Regions from separate parts of the Homo sapiens genome. Here all the other regions are linked to region 1. The links are contacts of gene promoters, found by promoter capture Hi-C in blood cells and fetal thymus (Javierre and others, 2016). All regions are on one chromosome and are shown on one strand. The core of a region is centred on a gene start or on the middle of the fragment in contact, and the rest is flanking DNA. Distances in the headings are between cores, read along the strand shown. Region 1 holds the start of RBBP8 (RB binding protein 8, endonuclease). Region 2 overlaps SLC35D4 (solute carrier family 35 member D4). Region 3 overlaps SLC35D4 (solute carrier family 35 member D4).

What was found. Contacts are between HindIII fragments. The CHiCAGO score rates a contact against its expected background, and 5 or more counts as called.
Region 2: a contact is called between a fragment that was not itself captured here and the fragment with the promoter of RBBP8 in region 1, in 7 of 17 cell types (non-activated CD4 T cells, naive CD4 T cells, monocytes and 4 more). The highest score is 7.8, in non-activated CD4 T cells.
Region 3: a fragment that was not itself captured here is called in contact with the fragment with the promoter of RBBP8 in region 1 in 3 of 17 cell types (total CD8 T cells, M0 macrophages and total CD4 T cells); the score reaches 5.4 in total CD8 T cells.

The regions. Positions count from the first base shown.
Region 1 is chr18:22,931,983-22,934,663 of GRCh38, forward strand. It overlaps RBBP8 (RB binding protein 8, endonuclease), which reads left to right and starts at 1,346. Exons shown (of 19, transcript NM_002894.3): 1 at 1,346-1,582. It overlaps RBBP8-AS1 (RBBP8 antisense RNA 1), which reads right to left and starts at 1,782. Exons shown (of 5, transcript NR_198963.1): 1 at 1,606-1,782. MIR4741 (microRNA 4741) reads left to right here and starts at 1,367; the gene lies at 1,367-1,456. RefSeq lists enhancers at 1,076-1,916, 1,600-1,729, 2,090-2,139 and a silencer at 1,390-1,469. The HindIII fragment of the contact is 3,221 bases long and covers 310-2,681 here.
Region 2 is chr18:23,427,817-23,430,497 of GRCh38, forward strand. All of the region lies in intron 2 of SLC35D4 (solute carrier family 35 member D4), which reads right to left. Among named protein-coding and RNA genes, the nearest start is that of SLC35D4, 8.8 kb to the right of the region's middle. The HindIII fragment of the contact is 6,062 bases long and covers 1-2,681 here.
Region 3 is chr18:23,395,300-23,397,980 of GRCh38, forward strand. The region is part of intron 4 of SLC35D4 (solute carrier family 35 member D4); the gene reads right to left. Among named protein-coding and RNA genes, the nearest start is that of SLC35D4, 41 kb to the right of the region's middle. The HindIII fragment of the contact is 3,960 bases long and covers 1-2,681 here.

The DNA of each region.
Region 1 (2,681 bases), core at 96-2,595:
ACAGTATCTTGGATTATGGAGGTAGTGATGGAGAGAAGGGGATGGATTTACATGTTTAGTAAGTAAAATTGGACTGCGTGATGGCTTGGATATGGAAGTTAGGGATGAATAAAGTGTCAAGGATGACTCTTTGGTTTCTGACTTGCATAAATGGATTAGAGAGTGAGACACAGGCAGAGGCCATAGGAACAGGTTGGGTCATTCTGCTCAGTTTTTCTTTGGACCACAGTAGAGACCACAGCACACTGCTCTTTCAATACTCTGTTAAATGACAAACTTATTACAGGTTATTTCTGTCATAAACATAAAAGCTTCACTCTGTCAATTATGTTTCCTATCTTGCGTTAAAAATTACATAGTCAAAATTTCATCCATTTTCTTTTAAAAATGTGGAGTTAAGTCTTATAAAATGGGGAAGTGAATGATAGTTGCTGTAACAGGCTAATAGAAGGTTTAGCACCCCTCTTCTGTATACTAACTTTTTAAGTTATATTTATTCATCCCTTAAGATGTGGGACAGGTGGAAAAATTACCTTTCCACTTTGTATTTATGATTTCTAAGTACTAAACTTTTAAAGCCTGTTAATATTATCCCTTCCCAGGTCTTAGAATAATTACACAAAAGTACTGGACTGGTTTAAAAGATATTTGATTCTAGTCTATTTTGTTCATTTGTAGAATTTCTAGTGGTCTAAAAACGATTCTTTTACAAATCAGGAGAAATAGGAATACCTACTATCGGTTTGAATCTCAAACGAACAGCCACAAGAAAAATGGACTTTTTAAAAAAAATTATCTAACAGCATGTTGTCCCAATAAATAATGCTGAAGGAGATTCCTTCTCGTTTCAAATTTGCCAGAAACTTCCCGTTTAACCTCAGCAAAATACAGATCGTTTTGATCTATGGCGTTACCGCACAACCCTGTCAGGTCACATCACTAAACTGCAGATAACAGCGACAAGGCCGAAAACTATGTTAGACGGATCCGCGTCCATACCCCCCATCAGTTAATTTTAACTCTTCATTCGGTACAGGTCACTCTACACATGCTTCCCTGCAAAATGCTTAAGCTAGACACAGTGTACAGATAACTTTCACAGAACCGCAAGGGCTTGATGCTCCCCCAACAGAACGGCTTGAGCTTTCCCCAGCGCAATTCAGAAATGCTGTGGCGGTCGCCAGACTCTTCGGGTAGCTCCCGGCAGCTCCGAGGTAGCGCTCCCCTCCCCAACCATCGCCCTCCGGGATGGGCCGCACCGAAGAGCCCGCTCCTCAGCTAGGGCACGAAGTGCGCCGCCGCGATGGGCAGCTGGAGGAAGGGGCGTGACGCAAGTGGAACTCCCGCGTGACGTCGCGCGGGCTCCCGGGCGGGGCGGGTCCGGCCGCCTCCGAGCCCGGCCGGCAGCCCCCGGCCTTAAAGCGCGGGCTGTCCGGAGGGGTCGGCTTTCCCACCGAGGATTTGGCACTCTGGTGAGGGAAAAGGGCGAAAGAGAAAAGCGAGCAGCCGTCCTTTCACAGCCTCAGAAAGTGCTCGCTTCCCTTCGGGGGCTTTCGCGAATCCCGAGGCAATCTCGGAGGCGGTGAGTAAAAGCAATCTCTTTACCCCACCCGGAGCTCTGGGTCGGAGCGACTGCTTCTGGTCTGGAGCTGCGTGCTTGGCGAAGGGCTCCCGGGGTAGGGGTGGCTCCCGGCTCTGGGGTTGTGTCTGATGAAATAGGCCGGGCCCGGGCTACACTCGGTGGTGGTGGACCGGCGGGAGGACGAGCGCTACCTCAGTACTACTTCTGGGTCTCCCGCGCGGGCTGAGGAAGCGCCTTTCGCCGCCAAGCCCGCCCCGCGCATGCGCCGACTGCGGCTCGCGCGCGCGCTTCGGAGGTTTTTTGGCCAGACCCGCACGCGGAACCGGCGCGGGCACCTGGGGAGAAATGGATGGAGAAGGGACCTGGCTGGAAAGCCTTTGCCCCGCTGCTCTGCTCCGCCCATAAGAGGACCCCTGAAATGTCCCGTGCAGTTTGTTCAAGTCCCCTGTGTGATGAAATGTGCCTCTCGCCTTACCCGTGTGAGAATACCTGTGGTGTGGCAGCGAGTATTTTGGTGAGCACCTGCAGTGTAGTGGTTTATACTAAGGAATACACACAAATTACAGGCCTTTGAGCCCAGAATGCAACTTGGGAGGTAAGACGTGACGTTCTGAGAGATTGAAAAATGTACATTGTCGTCGTGCCTCGAATAACGGTTCATTGCAGAGAGAGATGCTAACAAAAAGTGCCGGGCATGCGGGTAGGTGGAAAGGGTTTTGCGAGCCAGAATTTGCAAGTTGAATGTTTTGTTTTTATGTTTTGTTTTTAAGGCACTGTACATCACTTACTTGAAGATAGATACGTAAAGGATGCTTATTTTACACTCTTTAAACGAATATGTTAATACTTTTTCGGTCATTGAAGTAATTAAACCTTCATTTTAAACTGTTGACTTAATAGAAATCGTTTATGTCTTCTTTTTTTTTCTTTTTGCTGCAGAGAGGTATTTTTTCTTTATTTTATTATTATTTTTTATACTTTAAGTTCTAGGGTACATATGCACGACGTGCAGGTTTGTTACATATGCATACATGTGCCATGTTGGTGTGCTGCACCCATTAACTCGTCATTTACTTTAGGTATATCTCCTAATCCTATC
Region 2 (2,681 bases), core at 84-2,583, 500 kb after region 1:
CACCATGGAATACTATGCAGCCATAAAAAAGGATGAGTTCATGTCCTTTGTAGGGACATGGATGAAGCTGGAAACCATCATTCTGAGCAAACTATCGCAAGGACAGAAAACCAAACACCACACGTTCTCACTCATAGGTGGGAATTGAACAATGAGAACACTTGGGCACAGGGTGGGAAACATCACACACAGGGGCCTGCCATGGGTTGGGGGGAGAGGGGAGGGATAGCATTAGGAGATACACCTAATGTAAATGACGAGTTAATGGGCACAGCGCACCAACATGGCACATGTATACATATGTAACAAACCTGCACATTGTGCACATGTACCCCAGAACTTAAAGTATAATAATAAAAAAATTAAAAGAATTTATTAAATTAATAAGAAAAACACTAAAACCTCAATGAAAATAAATGGGTAAAAGGCACAACTAGACAATTCACTAAAAAAGAGATACAAGTGGATCATATGCATAAGAAAATTGTCCACCTTGATGAATAATCTAAAAAATTATACGACAAAACAACATACCTTTTGCTCATGAAATCAGCAAAGAGAATCACAGTTTGAGTACAATATTATAGAAACATTCACGTAGAGGCTGAGTGGCAATGTCAATTGGTAAAACATTTTTGGAAAAGAATATGTTAATATTCAAGGAGAATACTAAAGAAGTTCATGCACTTTAACCCAAATTTATTAATTTTTATGTTTTTTAGACAGGATCTCACTTTGTCACCCAAGCTGGAGTACAGTGGCATGATTACAGCCCACTGCAGCCTCTAACTCTTAGGGTCCAACAATCCTCCTGTCTCAACCTCCTGAGTAGCTGAGACTACAGGTTCATGTCACCATGCCTAGCTAATTTTTTTTTTTTTTTTAAAGATTCAAGGGGTGCTTGTGCAGATTTGCTACACAGGTACATTGCGTGATGCTGGTTTGGGCCTCTATTGATCCTGTCACCCAAACAGTGAGCACAGTACCTAATAGGTAGTTTTTCAATCCTTACTTACCTCTCTCCCTAACTCTCCCCTTGGGGAATCCCCAGTGTCTACTATTCCATCTTTATGTCCATGTGTACCCAATGTTTAGCTGCCATTTATAAGTAAAAACATGCAGTATTTGGTTTTCTCTTTCTGTGTTAATTCACTTAGGATAATGACCTTCAGCTACATCCATGCTGCTGCTAAGGACATAATTGTGCTCTTTTTTACGGCTGCATAGTATTCCATGGTATATATATACACCAGATTTTCTTTATCCAATCCACTGTTGATGGGCACCTAGGTTGATTCCATGTCTTTGTTATTATGCATAGTGCTGTGATAAAATACACGTGAGTGTAGGTATATTTTTGGTAGAAGAATTTATTTTCCTCGAGTATATACCCAGTAATGGGATTGCTGGGTCAAATGGTAATTCTATTTTTCATTCTTTTAGAAGTCTCCAAACTGCTTTCCATAGGGGCTAAGCTAATTCACAATCCTACCAACAGTGTATAAACGTTTCCTTTTTTCCAAAACTTCGCCAACATGTTATTTTTTGCCTTTTTTTTAGACGGATTTTCACTCTTGTTACCCAGGCTGGAGTACAACGGTGCAATCTCAGCTCACTCCAACCTCCAGCTCACTCCAACCTCCGCCTCCCAGGTTCAAGCCATTCTCCTGCCTCAGCATCCCAAGTAGCTGGGATTACAGGAATGTGCCATTATGCCTGGCTAATTTTTTTGTATTTTTAGTAGACATGGGGTTTCGCCATGCTGGTCAGGCTGATCTTGAACTCCTGACCTCAGGTAATCCTCCCACCTTGGCCTCCCAAAGTGGTGGGATTACAGGCATGAGCCACCACACCGGCCATTTTTTGACTTTTTAATAACAGCCATTCTGACTGGTATGAGGTGGTATCTCATTGTGGTTTTGATTTGCATTTCTCTGATGATTAGTGATGTTAAGCACTTTTTCATATGTTGGCCACTTGCATGTCTTGTTTTGAGAAGTGTCTATTCGTGTACTTTGCCCACTTTTAAAGGAATTATTTAGTTTTTTTCTTGTTGATTTATTTAGGTTCCTTATAGATTGTGGATATTAGTCCTCTGTTGGATGCATAGTTTGCAAATATTTTCTCCCATTCTGTAGGCTGTCTGTTTACTCTGTTAATAGTTTCTTTTGCTGTTCAGAAAGTCTTTAGTTTAATAAGGTCCCAATTGTCAATTTTTGTATTTGTTGCATTTGCTTTTGAGGACTTACCATAAATTCTTTGTCTAAGCCAGTGTCCAGAAAAGTATTTCCTAGGTTTTCTTCTTGGATTTTTAGAGTTTGAGATCTTACATTTAAGTCTTTAATCCATCCTGAGTTAATTTTTGTATATGGTGAGACAAAGGGGTCCAGTTTCATTTTTCTGCATATGGTTAGCCAGTTTTCTTTTTTATTTTTTTTTTGTAGACAGTGTCTTGCTATGTTGCCCAGACTGGTCCTGAACTCCTGGCCTCCTACAATCCTCTTGCCTCAGCCTCCCAAAGCGCTGGTATTATAGTAATGAGACACCACGCCTAGCCTAAACCAAATTTCTTATGTAGGAATCAATCCCAAAGAAATAGTTGGAGATCTGGCAGACTTTAACACAAAAATGTCTAGTAACATTGTTTTCATACCCCCAAAATAGAACATAAATGTCTGTTA
Region 3 (2,681 bases), core at 77-2,576, 460 kb after region 1:
TACCATTTTGCTTAACTGAGTAACTCACTCCACATGGGTTTAATGATCCATATGTGTTTCCTCATCAACATCCCCCTACCGCACACACAATCCCATCTCCATCCCCAGTATGTTGAGTGAATATTGTGCTCATGGAAGAGAGAAACAAGGACAAGCCATTAGGAAGGACCAAGATCAAAGAGCTCAGCAAGGAAAACAATTCCTGTCCTGTCAAGGTGCCTTGACCTAGACTTCTAGGGTCCCTCCAGCTGCAGACCCTGGCCTCCCCCAAGCAAGAAAACAGCATGGCTTGAGCCAAATTGCCAATGCCAGGATGGCCTCTCTCCACCAAGCTCAGTAATGTATGAATTTGTACATCTTTTCTGAACACTGGCCAGCACAGGCTGAGGCAGTCCTGTCCAGCTGAGAAGGCTTTTGACCAGGAAATTATAAGAAGAGTCATGAGCCATCAAAGTCATACTGTCCCTCCAAGACTGACACTCACCCATCAGAGCCATGATCACTGTGACCTTACTCAGTGTAGGAAAGCTGGGCAAGCAGGCCCGAATCAGCCCAAGTCCAACTCACACTTCATCAAGATTGGTGACAGAAAGTGCCTGGCACATGCTTAACATCAAATATTCATGGTGGCTGTTCCCATGGTGAGCTGTGTGTCTTTCACTCCCTGCCCCATCCCTTTCAGTTCCTCAAGGTCAGAAACCAGGTCTTATTTGTCTTTATGCCCCCAACACATAGTAGGTCCCAAATAACTATGTAGTGAATGGACAGCTACAAGAAAAATCTCCTTTCCCTTAACTCTGTAGATCATTTGGTTGTGAGTCTGAGGTAGAAAAATCAACCAAGAGCTTTTCCCATAGCATCTGTGCAGAGTTAACTCAGCTTCCTCCCAGAAGCTACAGATCAGGAGAACAGAACTTCAAGGTCTTGTCAGATAAAGGAGGGCTTTATGGAGCAGAGCTACCCCGAAAGTGTTTTGCATAACAATACATCTACGGATTTTAATGGAGCGCTTTTCCCCCATTCCTTATGGATTCATTAAACTGACAGCTTGGCACCAGCATATTGATGCCTGTTTTCTATCCAACACAAACTGTACAAGTGCCTCATGTTTATCCACCCTATGAATTTCTAAGCAACGATGTAAAAACAAAGAACTCAGAAACAAAGAAAAGATGCTGGGTTGAGTTATTTTACTATAAAACAATAATAAGCATCTGCTTTCCGCCCTCCTCCCACTCTAATTGGGTGTATTTGGTTTTTGGTTGTTTCCCTTTGTTCAAAGATTTTGAATTGCAACAGCTTCTTTTTGCTTATTTAAGAAGAATGTGCTCTCAGCAGGGTGCATGGCCCGTGTCTGTAGTCCCAGCTACTCGGGAGGCTGAGGCAGGAGGATGACGTGAGCCCAAGAGTTTGAGGCCAGCATGGGCAACACAGTGAGACCCCCATCTCTAAAAAAAGGCTGTGCTCTAGAGGAATGCCACTCAAAGTGCTGGTCCTCGAGAAGATAAGGAGTTGGCAAGAGAATGTAAAATCAATGCATCGCTTCCTCCTTCAAAATGTCTTGCAAAAAAAAAAAGCCAGCTCAATTAAACAGTGTGATTAGTGCCAAAGTCGATCTCTTCATGGACAGGTAACAAAGAATTCAAAGACCAGGACAGCTGCAGATCACAGCTCAAGAAGCGTTGTTGAAGGCTGCAGAACTCCCCAACTGCCTGAAAACACACTAGACTGACATTTACCATGGTCTTCTGAGAGGGTTTGGCAACTTAGTATCAGTACCTCTTTGTGTGTGTGTGGGGCGGCGGGGGGAGGGTAAAGCACTCCAACATTGAGGATCCATTACAGCCTGCTCTCCATATCTGGGACCCAGGCAGAGATCCTACATGAATAGGCCTCCAAGTGTCTCCAACCACAGTGAATGGTTCAGGGAAGTCTTGAACCAGGGCTGGCCAATCAACATAATTCCAACCTTGTGGTCAGTTTTCAGATCAAGGATGGGCAGTGGCCCTGACTGATCCAATCAGAGTGAAGCCTGGGACTCATGCAGGAACTACCAGGAAAATGGTCTCTTTCCACTAAAGTTGTGAGAATGTGAGGCTGCAGTTGACACCCATTGTTGGGGGCAGCTGTACAACACTCATTGTTGCTATAGGGGTGGGCTGGATGTGAAAAGAAACAAAGATGGGGAGCAGAATTGAAAGACAGAGAAACTGGATTCTGAGTGTAATACTGGAGCCTCTGGACAAAGCCATTCGTGACATAGGTTTCTACCCCAAGACTTTTCAGTTATATGAACTGGTAAATCTTCCTTTTGCTTAGACCAGTTTTTGAGCTTTCTAACACTTGCAACTGAAAGAGTCTAATGTTATACAATGACTACTACACCCTGGGCTCACTCTAAAATCCATACGCATTGGCCCTAAAGAAACAATTCTGAAAAGGCAAAAGGTGGGGAGTTAGAAGAGCTGCCATGCCAGGTGCAGTAGCTCATGCCTGTAATCCCAGTGTTCTGGGAGGCTGAGGCGGCAGGATTGCTTGCGCCCAGGAGGTCAAGATCAGTCTGGGCAACAGAGCAAGACCCCATCTCTAAAAGAAAATAAATAAATAGCTGGGTGTATTGGCAAGTACCTGTATTCCCTGCTACTTGGGAGGCTGAGGTGGGAGGATGACTTGAGCCTATT